Linked DNA regions of Homo sapiens: regions 1, 2, 3, 5, 6 and 7 are each linked to region 4. Evidence: promoter capture Hi-C in human tissues and cell types (Jung and others, 2019). All regions are on one chromosome and are shown on one strand. Each heading gives the region's core, a stretch centred on a gene start or on the middle of the fragment in contact. The rest is flanking DNA. Distances are from core to core; before and after follow the strand shown.

Evidence for each region. Contacts are between HindIII fragments. The study calls those that stand out against the background at their distance.
Region 1: a fragment that was not itself captured here is called in contact with the fragment with the promoter of E2F7 in region 4 in 1 of the 25 tissues and cell types used here (dorsolateral prefrontal cortex).
Region 2: a fragment that was not itself captured here is called in contact with the fragment with the promoter of E2F7 in region 4 in 2 of the 25 tissues and cell types used here (bladder and dorsolateral prefrontal cortex).
Region 3: a fragment that was not itself captured here is called in contact with the fragment with the promoter of E2F7 in region 4 in 1 of the 25 tissues and cell types used here (dorsolateral prefrontal cortex).
Region 5: a fragment that was not itself captured here is called in contact with the fragment with the promoter of E2F7 in region 4 in 1 of the 25 tissues and cell types used here (heart right ventricle).
Region 6: a contact is called between a fragment that was not itself captured here and the fragment with the promoter of E2F7 in region 4, in 1 of the 25 tissues and cell types used here (dorsolateral prefrontal cortex).
Region 7: a contact is called between a fragment that was not itself captured here and the fragment with the promoter of E2F7 in region 4, in 1 of the 25 tissues and cell types used here (mesenchymal stem cells).

Annotation. Positions count from the first base shown.
Region 1 is chr12:77,907,360-77,911,383 of GRCh38, reverse strand. The region is part of intron 1 of NAV3 (neuron navigator 3); the gene reads right to left. Among named protein-coding and RNA genes, the nearest start is that of NAV3, 78 kb to the right of the region's middle. The HindIII fragment of the contact is 4,690 bases long and covers 1-4,024 here.
Region 2 is chr12:77,588,718-77,592,797 of GRCh38, reverse strand. It overlaps a transcript of NAV3 not described here. Among named protein-coding and RNA genes, the nearest start is that of NAV3, 240 kb to the left of the region's middle. The HindIII fragment of the contact is 3,493 bases long and covers 955-4,080 here.
Region 3 is chr12:77,852,009-77,855,731 of GRCh38, reverse strand. All of the region lies in intron 1 of NAV3 (neuron navigator 3), which reads right to left. Among named protein-coding and RNA genes, the nearest start is that of NAV3, 23 kb to the right of the region's middle. The HindIII fragment of the contact is 4,717 bases long and covers 1-3,723 here.
Region 4 is chr12:77,062,871-77,067,046 of GRCh38, reverse strand. It overlaps E2F7 (E2F transcription factor 7), which reads left to right and starts at 1,478. Exons shown (of 13, transcript NM_203394.3): 1 at 1,478-1,702; 2 at 2,412-2,504. The coding sequence starts at 2,412. RefSeq lists enhancers at 859-1,088, 824-1,530, 3,930-4,079, 4,110-4,169 and silencers at 1,139-1,568, 1,589-1,638. The HindIII fragment of the contact is 7,313 bases long and covers 1-4,176 here.
Region 5 is chr12:77,728,908-77,732,925 of GRCh38, reverse strand. It overlaps a transcript of NAV3 not described here. Among named protein-coding and RNA genes, the nearest start is that of NAV3, 100 kb to the left of the region's middle. The HindIII fragment of the contact is 7,242 bases long and covers 1-4,018 here.
Region 6 is chr12:78,001,320-78,005,658 of GRCh38, reverse strand. All of the region lies in intron 7 of NAV3 (neuron navigator 3), which reads right to left. Among named protein-coding and RNA genes, the nearest start is that of NAV3, 170 kb to the right of the region's middle. The HindIII fragment of the contact is 4,103 bases long and covers 1-3,369 here.
Region 7 is chr12:77,614,557-77,618,911 of GRCh38, reverse strand. It overlaps a transcript of NAV3 not described here. Among named protein-coding and RNA genes, the nearest start is that of NAV3, 210 kb to the left of the region's middle. The HindIII fragment of the contact is 3,448 bases long and covers 1-3,253 here.

The DNA.
Region 1 (4,024 bases), core at 453-2,952, 840 kb before region 4:
GTGCATTATAAATTTACTTGGTGGAAAAATGTTATGCTGGCCAACAGGTTAGATTAATTTTGTTAATGGCAGATTCTAATCCAGTTCTTTAAGGGAATTCTGGAATTTCCAAAGACTAGGACAGATCATCTGTTTCTGGCTGCCTTTTATCAAAAAGTCCAGAAGCATTTGATCACTTTTTACCTGGAGTTGGCTCTTTACTCCCTCCCCAAACACACTGTGACTTAGTTATTCTAAAGCTAATGTTGGGTTGAAATGGCACAGCACTGCCTTAAGGGTATTCATTCTTCCATTCATACACGATCTCTATAGTAAACACAGTACTTCCCAGGTAGAGTACCATCCTGGCCGGTTGAGGTATAAAAAGATAGCCATTCACTTCTCTCTCAAATACAAAAGTTTAAAAAGTTTTCCCTCTGCATGTCCATTGTTGTTTGTCTCTACTGATAAGTGTCCATACTACTTCAGTATCTCACAGTATCTTCATGTTTTAGGTTACTGTTTCACCTCTTTTCTTTCATGCTTCAGCTTTCAAGCAAAATGACTTTGGTGGCACACCACCAACCTATTAGGGTGTACCTTATTTCTCTGTCTCTAGGGGAATCTCCTGAACACAGAATATAAGGTGCAGCCTGTGTGCTTTCAGCCCTATTTTTCCTCAAGGGCTGACTTGTTTGGATGCCTGGGCTTTCTTTGTCACCAATCTTAGGTACAGAGTGAGTTGCTGGAACTGCAGCTCCTCAGAGATCAGGAATGCTTCTGGTGGTCAGACACTAGTCAATTGCTGAAGTTCAGGTCAAAATTAAACTTAGACATAGGCAAAAGATCATTTTTAAGTAATGATACCTTTTCAGCAATCTATTAAATATAAGTGTTTGTCCCCTCCAAATCTCATGTTGAAATGTGATCTCCAATACTGGAAGTAGGGCCTAATGGGAAGTGTTTGGGTCACGGGGACATATCCCTACTGAACGGCTTGGTGCCCTCCCTATGGTAATCAGTGAATTCTAACTCTGTTAGTTCAAGGAAGAATTGGTTGTTTAAACAGTCTGACACCTCCTCCCCTCTCTCTCTTGCTCCCTCTTTCCTCATGTGACCTGCCTGCTCCCCCTTCACCTTCCACCATGATTGGAAGCTTCCTGAGGTGCTCATCAGAAGCAGATGCTGGCACTGTGCTTCCTGTACAGTCTACAGAACTGTGAGCCAAAATAAACCTCTTTTCTTTATAAATTACCCGGTCTCAAATAACCCTTCATAACAATGTAAAATGAAATAATAGACATAAGAATACCCAAATTTCCTATCTAATTAAACTCCCTATGAGACATATTTTAAGTATGCCTTGAGAGTAAAATCGTGCTATTCTGTTAAAAATCTTAACATCGAAATATTAGGAACATTGTAAAGATGTCTCAAACATGAAAACAACAAAGGCATTTAAGTGATTGCATATATATAATGACATATCTTAGTTCTCTAATATCTATCCCACCATGAAAAATTTATATGAAACCCATTTTTAGACATTCATTTTGTGTGTCTAAAGTAAATTGTGATACCATTAAGATTTTATGTTCTAACTATAGACTCTGATGCTAGTCTATTTCAATAAAATCTTTAATAGTCATAAAAATTGATATTATTATATTTTATATAAAGCATCCATGAAGAAGCATTTATACAAGAAAGTCATAAATTAAATTCTCTATTTCCATTGGATCTTATAAGATAATGGGCAATGTATTTGAAAGGTGGCTGAACTTCATCCAGTAGCTTATTTTAAAAGACAAAAGTATGTTGCATCAGCTAATATTTTAGTAAAGAACTTGTTCTACCTGAAAGATAAATAACAAGCTAATCTGCCTTTTTTCCATGTGGTACCAGCATGCAGTGCCACAATTGTCTAATAACATACTGTTTCTTTTCTTTCTTCCCTTTTTTTTTGGAATTAAAGATTTTAAGTTGGTATTTCTTATGCTTCTTCTTCCTATCAGTATTCACTATGATCACCCTTGATCAGGGTGGAACAGTTGTTACCCGGATGGACAAAGCTCTCCCCAAATTGAACTGATGTTTTAGTAAGATCAGAGAAGAAAAATGTTCCTGAAAGTTTCTCTACTACATATGTTAAGATACAGATAGTGACTTTTATTTCCTGTTGAAAAAATTATCATCTTTAATTATCAAACTATTATAAAATCCTATACCCAATAATGTTAATCTAGCAAAAACGGTAGCCACATTTTGAGTACTTGTAACATCTAGGACATATATAAGGGGCTTTATATTCAGTATCTAATTTAATCCTTCCACAAAACTATCAGCAAACGTTATTATCCCCACTGTACAGATGAAGAAACTGAGGCTGAGAGAAATTAAGTAGCATGAGCAGGGTGAAACGACAAATGAAAGGGTCATGATTTGGATCCAGTCAGCCCATTTCCACATCTATGTTACTTTTACTGAACTATGAAATCTATAGCTTGATTTTAATTACACTACTTAGACTTTTAACTTCTTTAAATACAAACTATACAATCTATTTTCATAGGCAAAAATTAAGTGCCATTATTATAGAGAAGGAACAATCTGATCTATAAATTATGCAAAGCAGAAAAATTTCTTAGAAGGGTTGAATGTTTCTCTGACATATTGAAAATAGTAAAGCAGTGAAAAAAATCTACTCATTAATCAGATATTTTAATGATCTCTAAGCCAGTTATCAAAGAAAGCAATGTGCTTTTTAGATGAGTAATATTTTTGGGAAAAAAAGTACAAAATTCAAACACTACTATAAAACAAAATCAATACAATCATAAAAAACTAGACACTGGAAGCTAAAGAATAACAGGGATATATTCTTTTTAAATTGCTTTACCTTATCTTAAAAATACCTGTATCATTGTTTTTTCTCCTTCTAGAAAGCACATTTATGTGCATTTTGGTAAGTGATGCCCATTTGGAAACCATTTTATATTCCTTAAATAAGTGAATAAAAGACTTCCAAGCTTTTCAGTGAAGGACAATGTATTTAGCCCACAAGAAGTTATAAACCATATGTCAGCTCCAATACTTTCTTGAGGCATATGTTTTTGGCTTCATATTATATTTACAATACAGTGAGTTTAATATTTATGTTTATTTTCCAATATGTAATTAGTAGTCTATGTGAAAATAAACAGTTTTGAATATAAGTTGTTTTGGAACATCATGCTGACAAATAAACGTATAATTTGTGATTGCTACTTACATACAACAGCTCATTATGTTTTAAAATAATAAAATATAGTAAATATGCTAAAAACCACTGTAAACCACAACTCTATAGTATCTACATGGGAGTGGTTTAGTTCCAGCTTTCAAAAATATTATGGAAGGAAATTCTGTGGCAATCACTTTGTGTTTAATATGCATGTCATCAATTTTATTCAGCCATTTACTCTGAGAAAGAAAAGTTGATAAACATCCACACATCCTTACAAGTATGTGATACACATGTAACGTTATGTAGACAAGAAATAGTGCAGTGAGTTAACATTTACTGAGCCTGTTCACCGGCTCAGTATCACATATGTGTGGAATATATTGACAAATTAGCTTGCTCTTAGGTGTTTAGTCTTAGAAAATGGTACTGGAGTCTTAGCTTTCTTAACTAAAAATCAGGTGTAATGATACCTCTTCTATAGGGTTGTTATGAGGACTCCTACATATAAAACAGATAAATACAATATTGAAGATTGTATAAAAGTCTTTTCTCCTTCCACAAACACATTGCTACTTAGTTATTCTAAAGTTAACGTTTGGTTGAAATGGCACATCACTGCCCTAAAAGTGTTCATGCATTTTTCCATTCATGTGATAGAGATAGCTAGTGATACCTGTTACTAATTATTACAAGGAAATAATCAGGAAGTCTGAAGTGGGTAAGTTTTATAAAAGAGATGAAATTGAGCTCGATCTTGAGACATGAGAAGGTTACCAAAAACTCTCACCTGGAGGCAACTAGAAACTACTTCAACCAAAG
Region 2 (4,080 bases), core at 1,452-3,951, 520 kb before region 4:
TTCAGAATGCCCAATATACAGACAACCTGGGTAATCGACTGCCAGAAGAAATCATCCAGCCAAAACATTTGGAGGAATTTAGGAGAATTTAGCAATTTAGCGTACGTGAAAAAGTACAACACATGCAGGAGCACTGACCAAGATATCACACCAAATGACTAGTAACAACTGCTAAGCTGCAGGACATAATATGATTATCTCCATTAAGGGAGGCTAAAAAATAAATCACCCCTTGAGGCTTTACAATATTATAAAAAGGATTGTGTGAGCACGATTGGATGTCTGTAGGAAAAGTAAAGGGCAGGGAGCTACTTTGATTATCGCTTCAGAGTGACACAAAAAGAGCCCCTCGCTTGAGCCATAAAAAGGCTTAGGTGAAACCAAAGAATGACCATTCTCCTATTCTGAACTTTGTTCCAAATGTCCCCAGCTTTGACATGTATCAAAAAATATATAACATCCTGAAACTGATATTTCTTCTCTGCTTTAGATTAGGAACATACGTACCTAGTCCTAGGCAGCCTTAGCAAAGCCCTCTCTAGGTGGCTCTTTAGCCAGAGTGCAGACAGTGCACTTTCAGCCCCAGCCAGCCAGTCTCCAGCCCCATGTTGACTTTCACTAAGCTTCCTAATGACAGGCAGCAGCTGGCCTTCAATTCTCTGATCTGGAAACCTGGGAGGGAAGCCGAATGAGCTAGGCAGAATCCAAAGCTGGTTTTGGAGTCAGACACTGTGCGAACGAAGCTCCTGTGGTGCCTGCCCATTAAGTGGCCCAGAATTTCTAGTTTCTAACAACAATGAAGCAACCTACCATTGAATTCTATTTAACATGCCTTGCTTCATCAGAATGAAAAATATAGTTTACAATTTACAAATCATCTCAGAAATTTGTAACATTTAATTTTACCAAAAATCAGGTAGACTTTCTAATTAATCAGTAGTAAAGTTAATATGACATATGGACTTAAACATATATGTATACATTAGGATATAGATAGATACACATACATATATAAGTATACAAACATACACATACATAAATTCAATCTTAATATAAATACATGGGCATACATCTTTATATTTATATGGGATTGCCTCTTGGATACACACATTTTTAAACATGCACATCTAGAATAACATGTTATATGTTTAAATGGTTTTGAAATCAATTGACACACTTGAATATGGCTGATCAAATTGTTATGGATAATGTTTCCAGGTTCCTCAATTTATCTGTATTGGTTGGTTCTATAGACTCAAGAAATCAGTTATTCTCCAACTACAAGCTTCTTCCTTCTGTGTAGAGATAACACTATGAACTGTATATTTTATACACTTTCTAGAAATGTCTCCAACTTTGGAGTTTGTGTAAAACAATTAAATAACGAACATCACAAATATTTCTCATACTATAAATTTCCCCATAGGGAATAATCCTAAAAACCTGAAAAGGAACTACAGCAGTGAAGATTCATCCTATCAATCATAGAAGTAAATAAAACAGATGAATATGTTAACATATTTGAGACAGATAGAAGTAACAGATTTTTCCAACAAATCACTACCTTTTTTTAGAAATAAGGTTTCAAATGGAAAATGATTCATTGAGGGAATTTATTAAGAAGACAAATTTTAATGAGCAGTAAGCTTATGCAAAATACACAAAAGGAAGCAGTTTTTATCTCATATATTTTATTTTCTCCCAACATTTTCCAGTTGAATGACTATTAGCAGCATTCAGGGAAACTAATTTGGTGAGAAGACGAGTTGTCTGTCTGAAAACTGTATTTCCTCCTTCTCTATTTCCTGAGCCATTCTTACACAGCAGGTACTATACAAGAGTCTTCACATGGTTTATCACCTTTGTTATCACAACCACCTAATGATGTCAAGTATTATTATTCCCATCTTTCAAATGAATAAACTGAAGCTAAAAGAACTACAACCACAAGAAAAAGGAGTAATCTTTGCACTCATACCCAGATCTGTAGGACGCTACAACCTGCTTTCTTAATAACTATAAAAACCTGTGTCTATACACAAATTATTTTTAAGCTTTTATATATAAACTCTTGATTATAATCTCCATGAATGAGCATATTTGTGTGAATAATAACCACCACAAGTGTGCGGGTCTTTAAGTTTAGAGGTACAAGTGCAGGTTTGTTACACAGGTAAACTTATGTCATGGGGATTTGTTGTACGGATTACTTCATCACTCAGGTATTAAGCCTAGTACCCGTTAGTTATTTTTCCCCATCCCCTCCCTCCTCCTACCCTCCACCCTCTGATAACCCCAGTGTGTGTTGTTCCCCTCTGTGTGTTCAAGGGTTCTTATCATTTAGCTCCACTTACAAGTGAGAACATGTGGTATTTGGTTTTATGTTCCTGTGTTAGTTTGCTAAGGGTAATGGCCTCCAACTTTGGTGTGGGGATCTTAACTTCATTCCTTCTGCTGGAGAATTTGCTGTTAAGCCATCTCACTTTATCGGACTTTTGTTGAAGCCAAAGGCAGGCCAGGAGCTTAGTCCATCATTGATGAATCATCCATAGCTCTGTCCTCCACCCATCCAAGTTCTGTCATCCTAAATCCTGACCAAAAGTGCTGAGTGCAAATTTAAGTGCACAGCCTCTACTGGGGTTCCTTTGCCATTTATGATATGGAAAGATGACTCTAATCTATACATAGACAACTTTTTCTTCCTTTTAGAGGTTTAAGGTTATGTTTTAGTTGTACCATGCAGGAGTTACAGTAGCCAATAAAACTAATCTTTAATGGAGGCTTACTCTGTTCCAAGCTTACATAAGTTATCTCTCTTAATGTTCTCAAAAAACCCTATGGGAAAAGACTGTTACTGTCTCAATTTTACAGAGAAATGTGATTAAGCAAATTGATCAAGTTGATACAGCTAGGGAAGAGCAGAAATGGTGTCCAAATCCAGGCTAACGCCAAAGCCTGTTCTCTTCACCTCTACTCTGGAAAATATACTTGGTGGACAATCAAATTCAGAGTCAATTTAAGATGTCTGATATGGTTTGGCTGTGTCCCCACACAGATCTCATCTTGAACTGTAGCTCCCATAATCCCCACATGTGGTGGGAGGGAACTGGTGGAGGGTGATTGAATCATGGGGGTGGTTTACCCCATGGTATTCTGACAATAGTGAGTAAATTCTCATGAGATCTGATGGTTTTATAAGGGAATTCCCCCTTCACTCATTCTCATTCTTCTCCTTCCTGCCCCCATGTGAAGAAGGATGTGTTTGCTTCCCCTTCTGCCACGATCATAAGTTTCCTGAGGCCTCCCCAGCCCTGTTGAATTGTAGGTCAAATTAAACCTCTTTCCTTCATAAATTATCCAGTTTTAGGTATGTCCTTATAGCAGAGGGAGAACAGACGGCTAATACAGTAAATTGGTACCACAGAGGGGGGCTGCTACTATAAAGATACTTGAAAATGTGGAAGTGACTTTGGAACTGGGTAACAGACAGAGGATAGAACAGTTTGGAGGGCTCAGAAGAAGACAGGAGGTCTGAAGTTGAGGTTCAATGTGATTAACTCACTGAACAAAATCCACAGAGCCAGGATCTGAACTATTGTCTTCCTCTTCCCAAAGTGTTTTTCCTATTATTTCATGCTGCCAAGGTCTTCCTACGGGAGAAAAATTATAAAATGTTTCCTTCCTGGAGTAATTTTTGTCTTAGTACCTAGATCCTTTATCTGTATCCTCTGTGAGTCCACGTTGCTTTGGCTTTGATGGAGATTGAAGCTTCTATAACACTTTAAAAGCTCAGTCCAGGGTACAGGACTCTTAGTACTCATTCCCAGGTATAGCTCTGCTGTGTCCAGTCCTAACATTCAGACCACTGCCTTCATTCCCTAGTGCTCAGTATGCAGAGAGCCCACTAAAACTCTAGACCAAAAGGGATTTCACATTTTACAAACAGAATCAAAGTTGTAGAATTTTGTTCCTCTCAAATAAAAATATTTTGTCAAAATTATAATTTTTTCCTTAAAAATGTATTTTCACAATTCATACCTGTACTTTTCATGTGAATTACTTTCTTTATAAGTACTTGCC
Region 3 (3,723 bases), core at 736-3,235, 790 kb before region 4:
ATATCCAGTGGACTAGCTCATGCTTATTTATATAGAGTGCCCACGAGCAGCAAGTGGGAAAGCTCTGGGCCTCTTTAGTCTGGGCTCAGAATTCTCACAGTGTCTCTTCAACTGCATTCTATTGCTCAAAGTAAATTCCAAGGCCAGTCCAGATTCAAGATGGATGTGAATACACTTCTGTACCCCACCTTGATGGGAGGAGCTGCAAAGTATTATAGAATTCTTATAATATATCACAATGTCATTGAACAGAGACCTTTTGAGAAAATAGAAAAATATTGTGATACCCTTTAGGGATATCACAGATTCACTAAGAATAGATTCTGTCAAACTGACCTTCTTTCATTTTGTAACAATGTTAAGTGGGAAGCCAAAAAAATAACAAAAGCTTAGAATTTTGATTTCAGACAATATTTGATGATTATTTTACTATTTTTGGCAAAAATATATTGAAATTTAGGCTATACCGAACAGTTGGATAACTGTATAAATATTTAGACAATTATAATTTTTAAATGTTGATTAAAAGATCATTCTCCACCTGAATTCTTTAGGACACATGCAAAAGGATGTTAGTCAGCATATATTTTTTATTTTTATTTTTGGAGATGGAGTCTCGCTCTGTCACCCAGGCTGGAGGGCAGTGGCGCGATCTCAGCTCACTGCAAGCTCCGCCTCCTGGGTTCAGGCCATTCTCCTGCCTCAGCCTCCCGAGTAGCTGGGACTACAGGCGCCCGCCACCACGCCCAGCTAATTTTTTGTATTTTTAGTAGAGACGGGGTTTCATCGTGTTAGCCAGGATGGTCTCAATCTCCTGACCTCGTGATCTGCCTGCCTCCACCCACCTCGGCCTCCCAAAGTGCTGGGATTACAGGCGTGAGCCACTGCACCCGGCCAGATGTTAGTCAGCATTTCTAAGTAATAAATGCTTACACTTAAAATATTTAGACGGTATATGATCTCATTTGTAGATTTAGAAAAGATAGTAGAAAGAGGCGGCATGATTGATAAGGAAATGAACTTGGAATTAGCATAAATGATTTGAAATTATATGTTGTTTTCTAGGATAAGTGCCACAAATATTCTGGCACATTTATTTCCAATAATTTTAACACACACACACAAACACACACACACACACACATACACACATACACACAATTGGCTTATCATGATTACATAGCTTTATTTCCTACCTTCTTCAGTTACTTTTACATCAAAAAGAAAACATAGTCCTATATCATAAAATGTTCTCGGAAAACAAGGTTTCTAATGATCAGCAAGTTTTGTACATTCGTAAATTAACTGAAAAAGTTGGAGGACACTTGTTTGATAATAATCATAAAAGTACGATTTAGGGGATTTATGCAGATTTATTCAAATTCAAGTTTAGTATGTGAACATGGTATGAGGTACTGCCAAAAATATGATAGAGCTGCTCTAAGCTGAATCAACAGAAACAGGCTGCCTTCCAGTTCTAGAAACTAATGGAGCCATATTGCTGATGAAACATCATGTAGGCTATTGCTTTCTATTAATTTTTAATCTTAATGTTAAATATATCAGTAACTAATTAGGCTATGTCTGAAAACGAATAACCATGATGATAAGGCATCTGAAATTCATATTGTGTGTGGAATAGTTGAAAGCCTTTACTCAAAGAAGAGGACAAAAAGGTGAGGCTTTTTCATTTTCCTACCAACTGGTATGACTATGAGCTCTAAAAATGTACACCTGCTAACAGACTGCTTCCCAAAGTCAATTCTGAGTTCCTCAATTATCCCTGAAACCTTTCCAAGACTTAGAAGTCATAGGATTCATATAATATGTGTTGAATAGATAAGTGAACAAAAGACTATATTAGTAAACTAGAACCAATAAGTGGAACTAACAGAGAGAGAATTTTCACCTCAGTATAAGAAAAATTTATACCTTATGAAATATTAACTCCTGATTTTTAGAAGTCTGCCAAACTGACTATAAAAGGTATGCATACGTTAAGAGTTTTACTGGATTCAGAAATCATCTGACACAAAATGTGGCTTTTTTTTAAATAGAGATAAGATTATCTCTATTCTGTACAATGACCAATTCTGCCTGTTTTATTGTGTATGTTGAAATGTTGCTATCAGAAGTATTGCACATATTCAATTTTCATCTCAAATAGTGCTTTTTGCATAGAATAGTTTTGAAATTTTTGAACAGTAGAGTTTCTTAAACAAGATAAAAATTGATACATTGGATTACACTAAAATTAAGAATTTATGTTTCCCAAAAGACATTATTAAGGGAGGGAAAACACAACCCATGGAATGGGAAAAGATATTCACAATATGCATATTTGACAAAGGACTCATGTGCAGAAAATGTTTAAAAAATTTCTATCTACCATTAAGGAAAGAGGCTCACTACTTATTAGAAAAGTAAGCAGAAAACCTGAATGAACACAACGGAAGATATCCAAATGGCCAGTTAAATACAGAAAAGATAATCAATTCCATCAGTCATAAGTGTATGGAAGCTTAAAACTACAACAAAATCACACTACATAGAAAATGCTAAGGACCTGTGGCCTCATAACAATGGTGATACCAGAGGGCAGAGATGTGGAGCAACTGAAGATGCATTCAGGTTAGTAAGAAAGCAATCTGGTACAACCACTTTAGAAATGGTGGCAGTAATCGTACTCATGAAAGCTGAGTATATGTCTTGCCTATTACCTAGAAGTTTCACCCCTAGGGATCTACCCAACAGACATCGCTTCTTATGTTCGCAAAAAGACATGTGCAGGAATGTTCACAGTGTCATTATTCATAAATCCCCAAGCTATAAACTATCCAAATGCCCACATTAAAAGCAGAATAAAAAATAAATTGTGGGAGAATTCACGTACTGGAATAATATAAATCTACGAGAATAAGGAATCTAAATTGTAATTGTAAATGTCAGACAGCAATTGTAAATGTCTGTTTCCTATTCTCTACTAGCTGGAAAAATGTGTTCATTTTCTACAAATTCATGAAACATATTTATGGTATGTGTACTTTATTGGTATGTGTCTATTATACATCAATAACAATTTTAAAATATTTTACTAGGCCGTTTTCACAAACTTATAATGCATATGTTTTGTTATTCTTCATAAGTATAACATTATTTATTTATTTATTTATTTATTTATTTATTTATTTATGAGAGGGAGTCTCGTTCTGTTGCCCAGGCTGGAGTGCAGTGGTGCGATCTCAGCTCGCTACAACCTCCACCTCCTGGGTTCAAGTAATTCTACCACCTCAGCCTCCCTTTCAAGTAGCTGGGATTACAGACATGTGCCACTACGCTCGGTTAAGTTTTGTATTTTTAGTAGAGATGGGGTTTCACCATGTTGGCCAGGCTGGTCTCAAATTCCTGACTGCAGGTTATCCCCCTGCCTTAGCCTCCCAAAGTGTTGGGATTGCAGGCGTGAGCCACTGCACCCAGTCAGAATAACAGAATTTTCAGAGTTTAAACTGTTATTTTGAAAATCAGTTATCCATTACCACACGTGAACTTTATAATGAGCAGGCCACATCTATCCCTACTCTCAAAAACTGCTTTTTATTTCCTAAGAGTCATCATTTTATTTATACTTTTGCTGTGATTTCCTAAATGAAGCTGTTGTTCAATTTCTGCTATTGTAGTAATAGTTCTTACTTCTCCAAGCTTAGTCCATGGGAATTACAAAAT
Region 4 (4,176 bases), core at 229-2,728:
AGCCGAGATTGGGCCACTACACTCTAGCCTGGGTGACAGTGCAAGACTCCGTCTCCAAAAATAAAATAAAATAAAAATATTTGGAGGGTAAGTGGTGAAGAATGGAGTCTTGGTATAGAAAGGAAAATGATACCTTTGCTGTAAAGTAGATGGGGGGTAGGGACATGTCTGTACATTTAAGAATGTCTGATGCTTTAAGAAGGCTGTCTCACATTTCAGTTGAGGGATATCTTACAAAATACTTGACCAATACTACTCAAAAATGTCCAGGTATCAAAAATGAGGAAAGTATGAGAAACTGTCATAGCCAAGAGGAGCCTAGAGACATAGGAACTAAAGGTAATGTGGTATCCTGAACAGAAAAAAGGGCCATTAGGAAAAAATTAAGTAAATCTGAATAAAGTAATGACTTGAGCTCAGAAGAATGTACCAATATTAGATCATTAATTTCAAAAAATATTCTATACTAACACAAAATGTTAATAGTGGGTGAAATTGGGTGCTGAATATATGGGAATTCTTGGTACTATCTCAATTTTTCTGTAAATTGAAAACTTCTAAACAATAAAGTCTGTTTTGTAAAAAGTCCATCTCTACCAACATTCATATTTTAAACAAGAAACTGTAGGATGAAAGAAGTGAAACATTTAATACAGATCAGTGGTGTTGAGGAAATTTTCTAGACTGTCTCCCAGAATGCTAGTCCCTATTGCAAAGAACTACTTTTTTATATAAAGCTTTTTCCCTCCTAATTATTTGCAATTTGCCGAAAAGGGAACACCAAAAAACATTTCCGGATTTGCCACACACACAAAACAAACAAACAAAAAAAAGTTAGAAAAACTTCTGGTTTGGCTTCCAGTCTTGTCTCCAGGGCTAACTGGCGTGCCATCTGCTCGCAGCAGAGCGGTAACCATGGTTCATGTGTCACACCAGCGTGCGATGTTAAGAAGTTTGCCCCGGCAAGTCTGGACAACTCCGCTTCCGCACAGGTTGCTGAGGGCGGGCGGGGATGGCGGCAGCAGCATCCAGAGGGTGTAGATCGTTCTTCCAAACCCCATCTGCTTTCCTGTCCTCTGGCTGTGCCCGGGGTCCCCGGGCGCGGCAAGCCGCGGGGACGTGCGCGGGTCTTCTATGCATAACAAAAGAGCCCTCCTCCTCCTCTTCCTTCTCCCGCCGCCCCGCGCCGCCCCGCGCCGCCCCCACCTTGGCTTCCCGCGGCCGCCGGGGCCCGCGTCCCCAGCAGGAATTGGCTCCCGGGCCCGAGGTTTCCAGGTACCCGGAAGGGGGAGGGGGCCGAGGCGGCAACAATTGGGCGGGTGAGGGCAAAACGCGCGGCTCGGAGCGCCAAGACTCCGAGGGGCGGTGAGCCCGGGCCGTGCCGCCGCACGATTGGCCGGGGCCGCCCCGCCGGCCGCCGCTGATTGGTGGATTCTCAAATTCGGTCTCAAGGCGCCAGAGGAGGTGTTTTAGCGGGGACTACGATCCAGGCTGGAGTTGCGCTCGGCCGGTCTGAGCGCTGGCGCTGCCCGGACGCCGCGGGGTCCCCGCCAGCCCAGGGCACTCGGCGCGGGGATCTGCGCGCCTCGCTCTCCCTTCCCGATGCCGCCGCCCGGCTGCTGATCGCCGCACCACCTTCCCTCATCGGCTTGGGTCCGTGGAGGTCCCTGCAGAGGCAGGAAGCCTCCTTAGGAAAGCAGGGGTAAGCGTGCGGCCCCAGCGCCAGTGGGGAGGCGGGAATTGGGATACAGGGCCCACTCCCGCCCCGGCTGCCAGCCTGCCACTCCTCACGTCCCCCGGCTGGCGAGGGCTCGAGGTGTTTCTGCCGGGGAACCCGGTGCGCAGAGGGTGTGCCGGGTGCAGCTCTCACTCCGGCCCGGCAGTAGAGGGGATTTGCCCTTCCCCACAACTTGGAGCTTTCATTGGAGAAGTTTATTTGGGGGATCTGCTTGGAGGCCTGGGAAGGGGCTGCGCTCAGCGCTGAGTGGGTTTGGTCTAGCGATCGGGTTTCCTTCCCCCGATTCAAAACCCCTCAAAGCCGAATTCCTCTCAGTTCTTTGCGCCAAAATTAACTGACCTGGGAGACCCTGTACTTTTCTGACAGATTTGCCCAACACCCTTCCGACTTGGTAACTTTATTTTGCCATCTAGCTTTTCATAAGGAGTTACTATTTTTGTAGATTTTTTTCTTCCCAGATTTTCAGTATTACTAAGCACACTTTAGGTGTTTGAGTTTGTTCGCGTGAGTTTTAGAAAGTTGAGGGTGGCTACAACTCCTGGAAATGCCCAGGATGTGCTTAGAGAAGGGGGAATTTCATATTGACAAACAAGTAACACATATGTAGATATTTTTGTTTGAGGAAAAAATACCTAATTGCAAAATCATTTTCTAGTGTAATTGTGCATTACAGATGGAGGTAAATTGTTTAACACTAAAAGACCTGATCAGCCCCAGGCAGCCCAGACTAGATTTTGCAGTTGAAGATGGGGAAAATGCACAAAAGGTAAGCAAACATAAACACCTTAGTTTCTAATATGTTAAGGATGGTGATGTTGAATTCAATTAAGTGTTCCAACATGCCATTTGTATTTGTATTTAAGCATAATAATTAATATTGATAAACATTATAGAAACATTCTTTTTTAAAAATAGAGCCATCCAAACCATTATTGTTGGAATTCTACTCTCAGATATAGTGGGAAAAATAGGCAAGGTTACATGTAATGTTGTAACCAATTTATATAAGTCAAAAATATGCTGGCTACAGCAATCAAAGTTTATAATACAGTTGTCAAGGGTGGTGTAGCTAGTGCTCTGTAGGAATGCTAAGCCTCAGTTCCCAGGAAAATAGACCTTTGCAGGCATAAATGCTGGATTATTAAAGTGCTGTGAAATGTCTTCATACCAATGAACTAGCTCCCAGAGACTGTTCCATTCACCCAAGAGTAGACCTGTGCCTACTATATAGGGAGATAAAGTGGCTGAACTCATCAGTATATTCTGAATATTTTACCATACTGTTGCTAGTTTTGCACTGAGCCATTCCCTTACATTTTGCACCCCTTGTGATTTGTAAGACCAAGATGTTGTTTTCAAGAACATTACAAAGTAAACTGGCCATAACAATGTCTAAACTATCTGAGCATTTTTAGGCACAGGCAAATAGAAATAACAAACCAAGTTTTAGAAACTTTGAATATAAATCTGTGAGTAGCAACTTGGGCATTGAACTTCTCCGAGCTCCTGGTCTTATTTTTAGGCTTAGCATCAACAGTGAAACTCCTTGGTTGCAAAGCAACCCAGGCTCATATGAGCCTTTGAAGAATACTTGATAATTGCTAATTTAGGATAGATGCGAAATTGTATGCTCCCCCATCTAGGGATTTTTTTTTTGTCCGGCATTTTGATTTATTTTTATTAGGTAAAGAAATACAGTAGTTCCCCTTATCCACAGGGAATGTGTTCCAAGACCTGCAGTGAGTACCTGAAACTGTGGATAATAGTGAACCAGATTGCCATTAGTTGGAACACATTTCTGTTTATTCTGTTTATGTTTTCCACCCCCAAATTTAGTGCCTTTTCCATCTTAACTAAGTACTTATGTACCATGGCTATAACTTTTGCAGTTTGGGGTATGACAGCAAAACTAGCATGAATTTCTCTTTCATTCTTTACAATTTCACAGATAGGAGACTAATTCTTACAGTAGATCTTAGCAACCTTGGCGTACGATTTTCTTTCCTTAAGTCAAGAACGTTCACCTTTTCACTTAAAAGAAGCACTTTATGGCTTCCCTTTGGCATATCCAAATTGCCAGCATCACTACTCTTGTGCTTTGGAGCCATTATGAAGTCAAATAAGAGTTACTCGAACATGAGCACTGCAATACCGTGACAGCCAGCCTGAAAACACAGTGGCTGCTCGAGCAGGTAGTATCTACCGTGCAAATACGCTGGACAAAGGGGTGAGTCACATCCGAAGCAGGACGGAGCAGGATGACGTGAGATTTCATTACACAGAACTGCACACAATCTAAAACTCATGAATTGTTTATTTCTGGAATTTTCCATGTGATATTTTTGGACCGCAGTTGGCCACTGAAAGTGAAACCACAGATAAAGTGAAGATTATTTAAAGTGGCCTTTTTTTTTTTTTTTTAATTATCTAAGTCATGA
Region 5 (4,018 bases), core at 262-2,761, 670 kb before region 4:
CCCCACATGTACTCTTTAAATGTGCATCATACATCTATGCTCCAGCCTTACTTAGCTACTCTCAATTCCTCTGCTTTTTCAACAAATGCCATGTGCATTAGCTATTCCATCATCTACAGTGTAGTTACTGCAGATATAGGATAATGACTAATCTACATAGGCTTAGTAGTCAGGTTACTTAGGTGCAAATATCAGCTTCACTGCTCACTTGCTCAGTGACCTTTGCCAGTTAAACTATATGTGCCTCATTGTTACCATTTGCAAAATGGGAATGAAAACAATTTGTGCCACGCAGGGTTGTAGTGAGTCTCAGGTGAGACAATCCATATTTCACAATTAAATTAGGGTCAGCAATAACCTCTCAGTAAATGTTAGCAATGATTACCAGAACTATAAGTAATAAATGTCTATAGGAAGTACTTAATTCTATCTGTTTTTGGGAGTGTTTCACAAAAAAATTAAGCAGCTCACACGCACTGCTGATGTCCTATAGCTTGGAATCACCCACCCACGGAAGCACCTCATAAAGCAGTGAGAAGAGCCCTCTTCAAATCTCCCTCTGTATAGGAATTTTCCCTGTGTGTATCAAATTCTTCTACGTTCAGTAATGTCTACCTCCCTTCTTAAGTCCCTCCTCATCTGTTCTTATTCATTCCATATCAGCAACCCAACACCATGATCTTCTCTGAAAACTCTTCACCAACAGATAAACAGCCCCACTTCATAACTTCTGCACATGGGCTGCTGAGTAGGCCATTAAATTTGAGGAGGAAAAGGCACTAGGAATCCTTGATGAAGAAAAAGAACATAAATTAGCAGCAACCTCAGTCTTTTCCAGTGATTCCAAATACATGTTTTATCTTGTAAGTTTTTTTGTTTTGTTTTGTTTTTGCCTTATTTTCAAACTCTTCCTTTCTACCGACTCGTTCTCTGTAGCCTATAAACCTATTCGAGCTCCTCCCATATGAAAACTGTCCTTCCCCTCAATGCTAAATGTAGTAACAGTTCCTCAATTGTCTTTCCTCTGCCCCTGGTAACTTAAGTCTTGCTGCAATTGTGCTACATTTGCAATCTCCGCTTCTTCAGCACCTAACCACTATTTTTTTAATTAAAATATAATTTTATATTGAAAATTCTACACATAAACATTTTAAAAGTTGAATACTTTTGGAAAGATTTTTAATAAGAACAGCACTACTCTGTGTCACCATCAGGTTTCATTCCTGAAAGGCCACCATTTTAACTCTTTTAGCTCCGTCTTCTTGAATTTTTCTCAAGTTGATAAATGATATCCATGCTGTTTCCCATTAAAAGCTCAACAATCTCTTGAATTCGTATATGGAAAATGAAGATTCCTCTCTCTCTTAGTCTTAGTTTTTATACCCTGGCTAGAATTTGCCAATCACAATTTGGATAGTAATTAACATTCAGTGTTTATGTTATACTAACTAGGTAAATATGTTTCCTGCTGGGTTATATATCGTATCATAAAATCATTTACATTAGTGAGCAACTTTTTCTTTTTGTATAATTGAGCACCTCTTCAAGAAAACTGCACAATTTTCTGTGTTCTTGTCATTAATTCTTCTATAACTCTCTACAATAGAACATATAGGATAATCCATTATTGCAACTTATCTTTTTTCTCTGAAAGACCTTCCCCTGGAATCCTCCCTTCTCCTCCAAAACTCAGGACTGGCTGCTGTATGGGACTGGTATTCAGGTGTTATCCCTTTCTTCAACTTCATTGTTCTGGGATTACCTTTGCCTCTCTTCTGCACTGAATCCTCCAATTTCTGAATCTCATGCTATCTTCATTCTTGATTTATTCCCTTAGTTTGATGAACCACAAGTTGTATGAGTGGAAGAATTTTGAAACCGTGTGTTTTTTGAAATACTTTTATTTATCTTTGTTTTTTAATCCTTATGTCATTCAGAAATTAGCTGAATACAAATTCTAGGTTGGCAATCATTTTCCTTTTGAGTATTTGAGGCATTATTCTGTTTTTATTCTAGCTTCTAGTACTTCTATTAAGAATATTCAGCTTCAAATGTGCCCTTTACTTGTGAAAGCTGTTAAGATTTTCTCTTTATCCCAAGTATTTAAAAATGTCATGATTATGTGCTTTTTTGTCTTCTTTAAAAAAAAAAAAAAGAAAAAAGCACTATGCCATCCCATTCAATGGGCACTTTTAATCTGGAAACTTAGTAATTCAGAGAGTCTTGTTTTATCTTTTGGCATTATTTCACTCCTAATTATTTCACTTCCATTTGCTCAATTCTGTATTATTGGAACTCCTGATCATAGGATTTTATTTTATTCTGCTCTGATATCCTCAGCACCTAGAACAATGCAAGACACATAACAATGCTCAATAAACATTTATTGGATATATAAATTAGAATACTAGACTACTTGGTTTACTTTCCTCAATTTTCTTACCTATTATGATTCTCCTTTGTTTTCTTTTTAGCTGTTTCTAACTTTTTCTCACTTTTAATTTCCAATCCTTACATTATTGTTTTTTTTAGTTTCCGGAATCACGTGTTTTCATTTCTAAAAATCTTTTTGTTCACTAAATGTCTTTTTAAATTTCATCCTATTCATCTTTCCTGTGTCTTTTATTTTTCCTCTGAGCATATCAGTTATTGCTTTTTAAAAAGTTTTTCTTTTGCTAACTGTATTGTGAATGTTTCAATTTCTTCTGAGTTATTATTCCTGATTTTCCCATTTTCCTTTGTCTTACATTAAAGGAATTTCTCAAATTCCCTGGGATACTTAGCAATCTATATGTTAAAGTGAGGCTTAAAAAGTAGAGAGTGAGGTTTGTGTTACTAAGTAGAGTTTACTTGTTCACAGGTCTTAGAATAATTGGGTAGAGCCTGAATGTTTTCAACAAGCTTCAAATGTCAATATCTAGAAATTAATTCTATACCCCTCATTCCCATATACACACCTCTTCCTTGAAATAGGAATCTATTATGCTCCTGCCTAGAGAGCTAAATCTTGGATATAGCATCCTGGGTAAAGAAGGAGTTGATGGCTTCTCTACTTGGTATCTAGATTTTTCATCAATTATCTTGTTTTCAGGCCCTCTATTGTGTCTGATATCCTGAAGTCTAGAATATTTCTGATTTAATTTTACCAATAGGTAAGTCTCCTGCCTTATATCAGGATTTAGGAGGAGTTGTCATTTGGCTGTGGAGGAAATCTGAAAGATGAATTGCTGCTGCAGAATTTCAGCCTTCTCTCTTCTTCCTTGTTTCAGTGATTTTTGTTGCCTCCAATTCCAGGGCCCAGAGGTAAAACGTTGTTTATTTCTTGCAGGACCTTTCTTCTTCAGTTAGTTATAAGCTTCCTATGCTCTGATCACCATGTTTATCTTACATTTCACTTTCCAAATGTCATAGACCTTACTTTTTTCCTCCTTTTCCCATGCCTTTTTCTTGTAGGTTTTAATTCTTCACTAATATTTTAGTGGGGTTTGAGAGGAAGTAAACACACATATATGAACTCAGTCTTCTATGTCTAAGTAGATTTCCCTTCACTCTTCAAGTATGAAATCAGGCTTCTATGCCTTCCTTGCCATTAAAACTACTTTAGGAAGGATCAGTAATGACAGTCCACATTCTAAGACCAACACACTGATGATTGCCAAACCTATATATACCAAGCCTAGGTCTCTCTTCACATCAATATACACTTGATCCTTGAACAACACAGGGATTGGGGTGCCAACCCCCTACACAGTCAAAAATCCACATATAACTTTTCACTTCCCCCAGAACTTATCAACTAATAATCTACTGTTGACTGGAAGCCTTACTGATAACATAGCCAATTAACATATATTTTGCATGTTACATGTATTATATACTATATTCTTACAATACAAATAAAATATCAAGAAAGTCAGAAGAAATAGAAAAATATATTTACTATTGGTTAAGTGGAAGCAGACTATCATAAAGGTCTTCATCCCCATTGTCTTCATGCTGAGTAGGCTGAGGAGGAGGA
Region 6 (4,339 bases), core at 69-2,568, 940 kb before region 4:
AGCCCAAGCTCTATAATTTTCTTGGAATGTCAAACATTCTAAGTGTTTACCACAGTCATTCTCAAAACTTTAATGTGCACACATGATACTTGGGGATCCTGTTAAATGCACATGTGATACAGCAGGTCTGCAGTGGGCCCTGAGGTTCTGCATTGCCAACAATCTTCTGAATGATGCCGTTGCTGCTCACACACAAGTCATACTTTGAGTAGCAAGGGTTGAGTAGACTCACAAATTCTGAAAACTGTTGGCCTTTTCAGTTTTAAAGGGCTGTTTCTTAACACAGTCCCCCAAATTGCTAAATTCATTAAATGTTTCATAGCTATGCAATATTAACATTTTTTACTGAACTTTCAGAACCTTGGCTAGCTCTGAGTTCACCTGGATGTTTAGCAGTTTGCTTCAAATAATCTCTAAAACCAAAATAAACTCTTCAGGTTCCCCTAATGTCATTTTTTCTCATCTCTTTGTCCACATACTTGTTATGTATCTTCTGTGCATCTACAACTAGGTTAAGAAGTAAGAGTGTGCCTGGGAGCTTCGGTGGGGTTGATCGGAGAGGGTAGAAAAGAACCAGTCAGGATGCTTTTTTAACTGGCTGATGAACAAGGGACATAAGAGAAGGTGCTCTTTCCTTAGAAAAGAGAAACAAGTTGAAGACATTAGCTAGAAGACTGCTATAGAAGTTCAAGTACAGAAGAGGAATTTCAACATCACTGCACCCAAAACTGAAACAAGAGGGACTCTGAATTATGACATCCACATCCAACCCACAGTAATAGTCATAACAGCAGCTGTAACATCATTCTCAGGCGAGTACACACATATAAGATACTTCCTGAAGCTCCGCTCTAAATCTGTCCACAGCCTGTCCCTATACAGAGGCAATGAGATGCTTCAGATTTCATTAAGAGGGCAAATCATAGGTTGTTGTGCATCAGGAAGGCACTGGAATAATAAGAGTCTCTCTGGACTCCTCACAGTAAAGATTGCACAACAGCAGCTGAAATGGCAGCACCTGTAGTTTCTACAGAATGAATGTAGTCACAAATTATAATCGTTGCCATTTATATATTCAGGAATAAGTAGCCTGGTCTCAATGACATATTTCTGAATGTTGATTACTCAACTTCTGACTATGAATGAATCTCAGCATGGGGAAAATAACAGATTTCTAATGCACATATTTAAAGGCATTCCAAAAATGGATTTGTATCTTGCATTTTTATGGGCTATCTCTGCTTACAGCCTTACCTCTTGTCTATGGTCCCCAAATAGCAATTTGCTTCCACTCCCTGTCTTCTGCTTCCTCTTCTTATACCTCACCTACACTCACCATTGCCAACTCCACCATAACCAAATAATATTATTCATCTACTGCTTACTTTATTCCAAGTACATAATAAGTACTTCATACATGGTATCTCATTTAAACCCATAATAATCTACAATATGCTTATGATCTCTCTTGTTAAAAATGAGAAAATGAAAACTTAGAAAGATAATTTGTTTTCAATCATACATATGGCAAAACTTAGAAAAAACAAAATCTAAATTGGAACTCATTTTTATCTGACTCAAACATTTGGAAGATTTTCACTGTCTCTTCTTTCCACATGTTTACTGCATGCCAGAAATTCTGCTGAAATGGCTCTCCAGCAAGCCACATTTATCGCACAGTCAAGTTAATTGGGTAACTCCTTGTTTTCCTTCTTCCTTGGTGAGCAGGATATAAATGGGGAGAACATCACACAAGACACTTTATTCAGGTATTATATACCTTCTTCTTTAGCATCTTACTTGCACCTGTTCCTCTGAGTTGATGTGAGAATAGATATTCGTTCACACTTGCAAAACATCTAAATTCACAGAACTAATGTCTAGTTATCTCATCTTGTAAATAAACAATATTGATGACTTGGGAACAATGCCAACCAAGTTCTAAAATTAATACATGGATGTAAATGTGGCAGTCACAACAGGCATATGGAAAGTTTATAGTGGGACATTTCTCTCTGGAACCTCAGTTAGCTGTAGAGTTAGCACCATGTTACCAAGAGTGGTATCAGTCTGAGAAAGGACATAGAGATGATTCTTAATCGCTTATCTCTTTTTCCTCACTGAATAGTGCGTTGCTTTGACAAAAGTAAACTAGGTTCCAACTCTGAAATATAATAAGTGACAACAAAAATGATGACAAAAGCACCATTCATTTCTGAAGTATTTCCTGCATGGCAGGCATTGTGCTCATTGATATAGATGGTCCCTGCTGAATATAGGATACTTTAAGCATCACAGATCGTGGTGGAAAGAGGAAAATGATTAAACAATGTGGCTATGCCACTTATTTTGATAAATAATTAGGACTTTAATTCCACAACAACATACCAAATGCTTTAAAAAAATTAAGTTGAAGAAAAGTGGCAGTCAAATCTAAATATGTCTTGGTATTAAGTGGATCCTCATGCACCTCCTCACACTGCTTTGCATAAATAATTGCTCGTGTATTGCCTCAGTCATCAATTTTATAGTGACTCAAAAGAAACATGGGGTGGAGTTTTATAGGGATCCTAGAAGAGCTGTTCATTCTGCACATGCTTATATTGTACCTTTGCAATATTAGAGTGCCACTCTGTGGAGAGTTGTACAATTTAGAGAAGCTTACATTCACTCACCAGCCAGTATGTAATTTATGTACAGGCATATATACTTTGTGGACACCTCAATATTTGTGCATGTATGCATAAACCAACAACACATATGGCCAAGTCTATTTAGTCTTATAAATTGATATATACATAGATATAAATATATAGATATAGATATATACATATATTTACACATATGCACCTAGTTATGGTAACTCATGGAAAGAATACTAAAATCCCTGAAATTATGACATTAACAACGTATTTTAGGCTTATATAAGTATTAAGTAATAAAGCATTAAAATGCATAATTAGATCACCAGTAAAATAATAACTAAAGCACATTTGCACTGGCTTGAAAAGAAAACAGTTCAGTTCTTTGACTTTATTGTAATTTCAGAGTAATTAAAAAAACAAAGTGTTTAAGAGCTAGACATCTATGTTTTAGCTGAATAAGCTGCCCAAATTTAAAGACTAATGCATAATTCTCATTAACTCTGATACCTGTATAATGTTGAATTAAAATGTTGCTAAATCCTTGGCATCTATCTTATTAATTCTGTGTTGTGTGTAAATAAAAGCCAAAGCTTCCACACCAGAAGACACCTGATTAGAATCTAGACAAAGAGAAGGAAGCCCTGTTCAGTGAGTAAACAGGTACAATGTAAGAATCACGGTGAGAAATGGCAAAAAGATGGTAGGTAGTATCCCTTCTGGTGCTGGGGCATGTTTCTTAGCAACATGGAAAAACACCTCTCCACTAAGGAACTCCATCAAATGATGCATGTTTATAGATCATAATAAAGAAACTGGATTCCAAATAAAGCTATGGATAAATTCCTAATAATATTAAGCTTTTTTGCATTTTTAATTTTTTAATACAAGTTTTGTAAAACAAAAGAATGATTTCTTAAGGTAACTTGCTTCAGGCATGCAAAGTATATGTCCAAAGGAACCATGGCATGGTTTCTACAAGATTTGATTTACAGTTAACAGGTATTTGGTTTACTTCGGAACATATATCTGTCTAGAGTACTCTCATATGGTTCTGGGCAAATTGACAAATGCTGGTGTCAGAGTGTATTATTCATTGTCAGTTTCTGAATGGCAGGTCATCAGGAGAAGAAACTGAAGCACTCTCAAAAGAAATGCTTTACAAATGATGCTGTTTTCATTTTACCACTTGTTCTGAGAAATATGTTTCCGCGTTCCACTTCGACATAATGTTCAGATGGCAGTGCATCCCATTGTAACGTTTCTATTTCAGCCTTCTCTGCCAATGATAACCTACTACAATGTGTGCTGATATTTTAATTCATTTAATGAGACTGTAAAACGAGCACACTATTTTTTCAAATTTCATTATTAAAATGATATTAGATGTATCTTTTGAAGTGCAGTTTGTAATTCTCTACTGATTTCTTCTCATTAAGCGTCACATCACTTTAAAAAAGCTAATTTGTTTTACAAATCATACATATGAAAAGCCACTGTACTTTCAACAATTTGTTTTTTTAATATAGAAGTGAAATTGTTTTAATTGTGAATAAACCTTTACTATGTATTACAGATTCTATAGATTCCTGAACTGATTTATGTAACTCATCCTCTCAGAGTTGTTAAAGAATGTATAAAGTATATTTCCACTTAAAAGCATTCGAGGAACACATTACAGATAATTTGGTTAATCC
Region 7 (4,355 bases), core at 280-2,779, 550 kb before region 4:
AGCCCTTTGGATATTAGAAGAAATCTCAAGTAGGCTACTGACAATCCATTTATTTAGATTCTGTGTGCTTTTAATTCTTAATTTGTAGACGATGAGTGCTAACAAAGTACAGCCTTGTCTTCCTTCCTATCTTCTTCCTTCTTTCTCTATTTCTCTGGAGCATTACAAAAATCAATGAATACATTCTATAAAATACTGACATAAAAGTAATATTCAAGGATTACTACCATTTTTATTAAAGTAGAATCTATTCAAGCTATTTTGTTGATATTATGAGAAATTATATATATACGTGTTAAACACACTGCAAAATTTTAGAAATAAATTTGATAGTATTTAGTTATACAACATTTTAATTTGATACTTTCCACATATCTCATTTATTTTAAACTTAAAATACTAACAATAGTATCAACTAATATAATTATTTTTCAATCGAATATTGCATGTCCATGAACAAAAAATGTATGCCATTTCTAGTAGACAAAACATTATGAAGAGTAATTAATATTTTGCTTGTGTTTTAGTAGTGCCTATCTATAAATTTAAAATCATTCCAATGAAGTACTGTATAGTTGACTATTGCTCAGGGTAACTAATTATTCCAAAACTTAATGGCTTAAAGTAGTAAACATTTATTTTGTAGTTTCTATGGGTCATGAATTTGTTAGTAGCTTAGCTAAATGATTCTGGCTTAGTATCTCTAAGGAGGCTGCAGTTAAGATGTCAGCTGAGGTTACAGTCATCTGAAGGCTCAACTGGGGCTGGGGAATCCATTGCCTAGATGGTTTACTCACCTGATCTAGATAGGAGTGAAACCAACTCCAAAAATTCTATACTACTAATCAGGCAAGAAGCGGAGAGACAAAACCAAACCAAACTTGTTGCACACTCAGCATTAATCATTAGGTCAGCTTGCTTCTGGCCTGCTTTCTCATGGTTGTTTGCTAACTATTGCCTCAGAATCACATAGACACTGTCACAAGATTATAGTTTCCCTTAACTGCTCTGTAGATAATGACTTGAAAATTGTAAAATTTAAGTTTTCCATTTGAGATATTATTTCAGGTCTTGCATACTGGTGAAACTACTGAGGTAAGATTACTGACACCAGCTGGTCTGAAGGAACCCACTAGGAGCTGAACAAAGAATGCAGTTTTCACATCTGTTAATTTCATCTATCTTACCCACACCAATCAATAGATCCAATTTTCCAGCCCCTCACTCTCCACCATACCCTTAAAAGCCCCAACGCAGAATTCCTCAGGGAAGTGGATTGGAGGATCCCTCCTGTCTCCTTGCTTGGCCGCCCTGAAATCATTAGACTGCTTCTCTGCTGCAAACCCTGCTGTCTTAGTATATTGGTATGTTACTGCATAGTGGGCATACAAACCTGGTGGTTCTATACAAGGAAGTCTCAGTTTTTTATCATATGCCTCTCTCCATAGTGCTGTTTAAGTCACCTCATAAGATGGCAGCAGGAATCTCCCCAGGACAAGTAATCCAAAGGAACAAGACAGGGGCCTCAATGAGTTTTATAACCATCCCTGAAGTCACATTCCATCTTTCTGGCAACTTCCCATTCATTACACAAGTCAGCTGTACTCCATTTAGGAAGGCATGTCAAAGGCAAGAACACCAGATGGTGGGGATCACTGGGGAACATCTGGGGACTGGCTACTACAGTTATCAAAACTTTAAAAATATCAAAATTCACATTTCAATAATTTACCAAAATTTAAAAATTTAAAAATTGTCCAGTATACCCTAGCAAAACAATATTCAGCCGTCCAAAGAGCTTCCAATACATGTGAAACTCAATGAGAAAAACTGTGAAATGTATTAAAGAGAAAGTCACAAAAGATGTGCTCGGGAAACTCACAAGAATAGAAAAGATAAGTGACTATTTAGTATCATGTCAATGCTATAGCGAATTCTATTATGTTCTTTTAGAGCTGCAAAAAATTTTGAAACCAGTGACAAGTTAAAATAATCAGTAATTCAAGTCTATTAGCAGTCTCTTAGGATTATAAAATATAAAAGAAATGTAGAAAAGTTGTTGAGATTTTCTGCAGAATATCATTCCACCTACACAGCTAGCAATAAGTTTTTAAAGAGGAGGTGACTAATTGCATGGAGCATATTTTAATACATAATCGTGTGTGTGTGTGTGTGTGTGTGCGCGCCTGTGTGTAGCACAAATAGCAGGTTTTGTGTGTGCATGTAGTACAAATAGCAAGCTTTGGAGGTAGGAAGATCTAGTCTCCCAGCTCAGTTCTGATATTTACTGAGTCAACTTAGGCAAGTAACTTAACATTTCTGAGCCCAATTTCCTCACCTGTAAACTGGTCCCCCCTACCTCACTGGTTATCTGTGAGTCACAGAAGCCTATGTATATGTTGGTGATTGTACCACATTATATATACAAAGGGTCTTCAAAAAGTTCAAGAAAAATGCATATTGTGAAAAAACTATGCAGGGATTTAAAATTTTTGCACCAAAATACCCATACTAACTTATTTTATTGCCCAGGCTGGAAGTACAGTGGTGTGATCTCGGCTCACTGCAACCTCTGCCTCCCTATTCAAGTGATTCTTCTGCCTCAGCCTCCCGAGTAGCTGGGATTACAGGTGCCCACCACCATGCCTGGCTAATTTTTGTATTTTTAGTAGAGACGGGGTTTCACCACGTTGGCCAGTCTAGTCTCGAACTCCTGACCTCAGGTAATCTACCCACCTTGGCCTCCAAAGTGCTGGGATTACAGGAGTGAGCCACCATGCCTGGCCTCATACTAACTTCTTATGTCTGAATACGATATAGTTTGAGGCACTAAGAAGGATAAAACATCAGTTAGAAAAAACACTCCAACATGAATTCTGCTAAAATGGAAGAACTAATATGAATTTTATGGTGAAGCTTGGGTGAAAGAATAGTGAAATCACTGATGCTTTATACAAAGTTTATGAGGATAATGTCCCCCTCTGCCCCGCAAGTTAGTGTACAAATGGATAACTCATTTAAACAAGGGAAGAGATGATGTTGAAATGAAATGCCACAGCAGCAGAGAGAGGGAACTATACCAATTGGAGAAGAAAAAATTAAATTTGTCTGTGCCCTAATTGAAGAAGACTGACAATTAACAGCACAAACAAGAGTCCACACTATAAACATCTCAACTGGTATATACCCAAAGGAAAATAAATCATTCTACTAAAAAGGCACATGAATTCATATGTTCATCACAGCAGCATTCACAATAGCGAATAATGGAATCAATAAAGATGCCCATCAACGGTGGACTTTATCAGGAGAATGTGGTACATATATACACAATGGGATACTATGCAACCATAAAAGGAATGAAATCATGCCCCCTACAGGAGCAAGGATGCAGCTGGAGATCATTATCCTATGCAAACTAACACAGGAACAGAAAAACAAATGCTGCATGCCTACACTTGTAAGTGGGAGCTAAATGCTGAAAACACAGGGACACAAAGATGGGAACAATAGACACTGTAAACACTGATCCATAGATCAGGTACTATCATGATCACTATCTTGGTAATGAGGTCATTTTTACACCAAGCTTCAGTGACACACAGTTTACCCATGTAACAAACCTGTACATGTACTCCCGAACCCAAAAAAATAAATAAATAAAATAAATACTTCATTAAAATGGTATAAATAATCCTTCATGAAATTTTTCTAATTACAAAATAAACTTTTATAAATTATAGAGTTGTGGCTTCAGAAATCCAAGTTGAAGAAAATTGATTGCATTTTAAAATATTTCAAAAAACCCAAGAAATATTTACTTGCTCCTATATCTCACATTATACATACAAAGAAAAAGCAACATCTGCATGTGATGTCCTTGCCATACTTCATCACCTAGCTATCTTTTGGCTGACCTTCTCATCCAGGGCTCAGCTTAGAGCTCATATTTTCCAATAAGTCTCCAGATGTTGCTACCACCTCTCCATTCAGGATTAGTAGCTGCTCTCCTGAAGGAGCACATCCTTGATGATAATACTATTGATAAAGATAATGATGACATCCACTATAATGCAACGAACTTTCTTAAAGTACTTACTATGCACCAATCGCTGGGCTAAGTACTTTATATCTATGATTGTGTTCAATCCTAACAAGTATGTGAAAGCACATAGTTTTACTACTACCATTTACATAGGTTAAAACTGAGGCACTCACTGTGGAAGGTCACACAGCCAGAAGGGCCAGAGCCAGGCTTTGAACTCAGGCAGTCTGACTCTACAACTCGTGGTCTTAAATGCTAAGTGAACACTACCTCATATGATTTGTTTTTGAATACTGATTGCATAGGACAG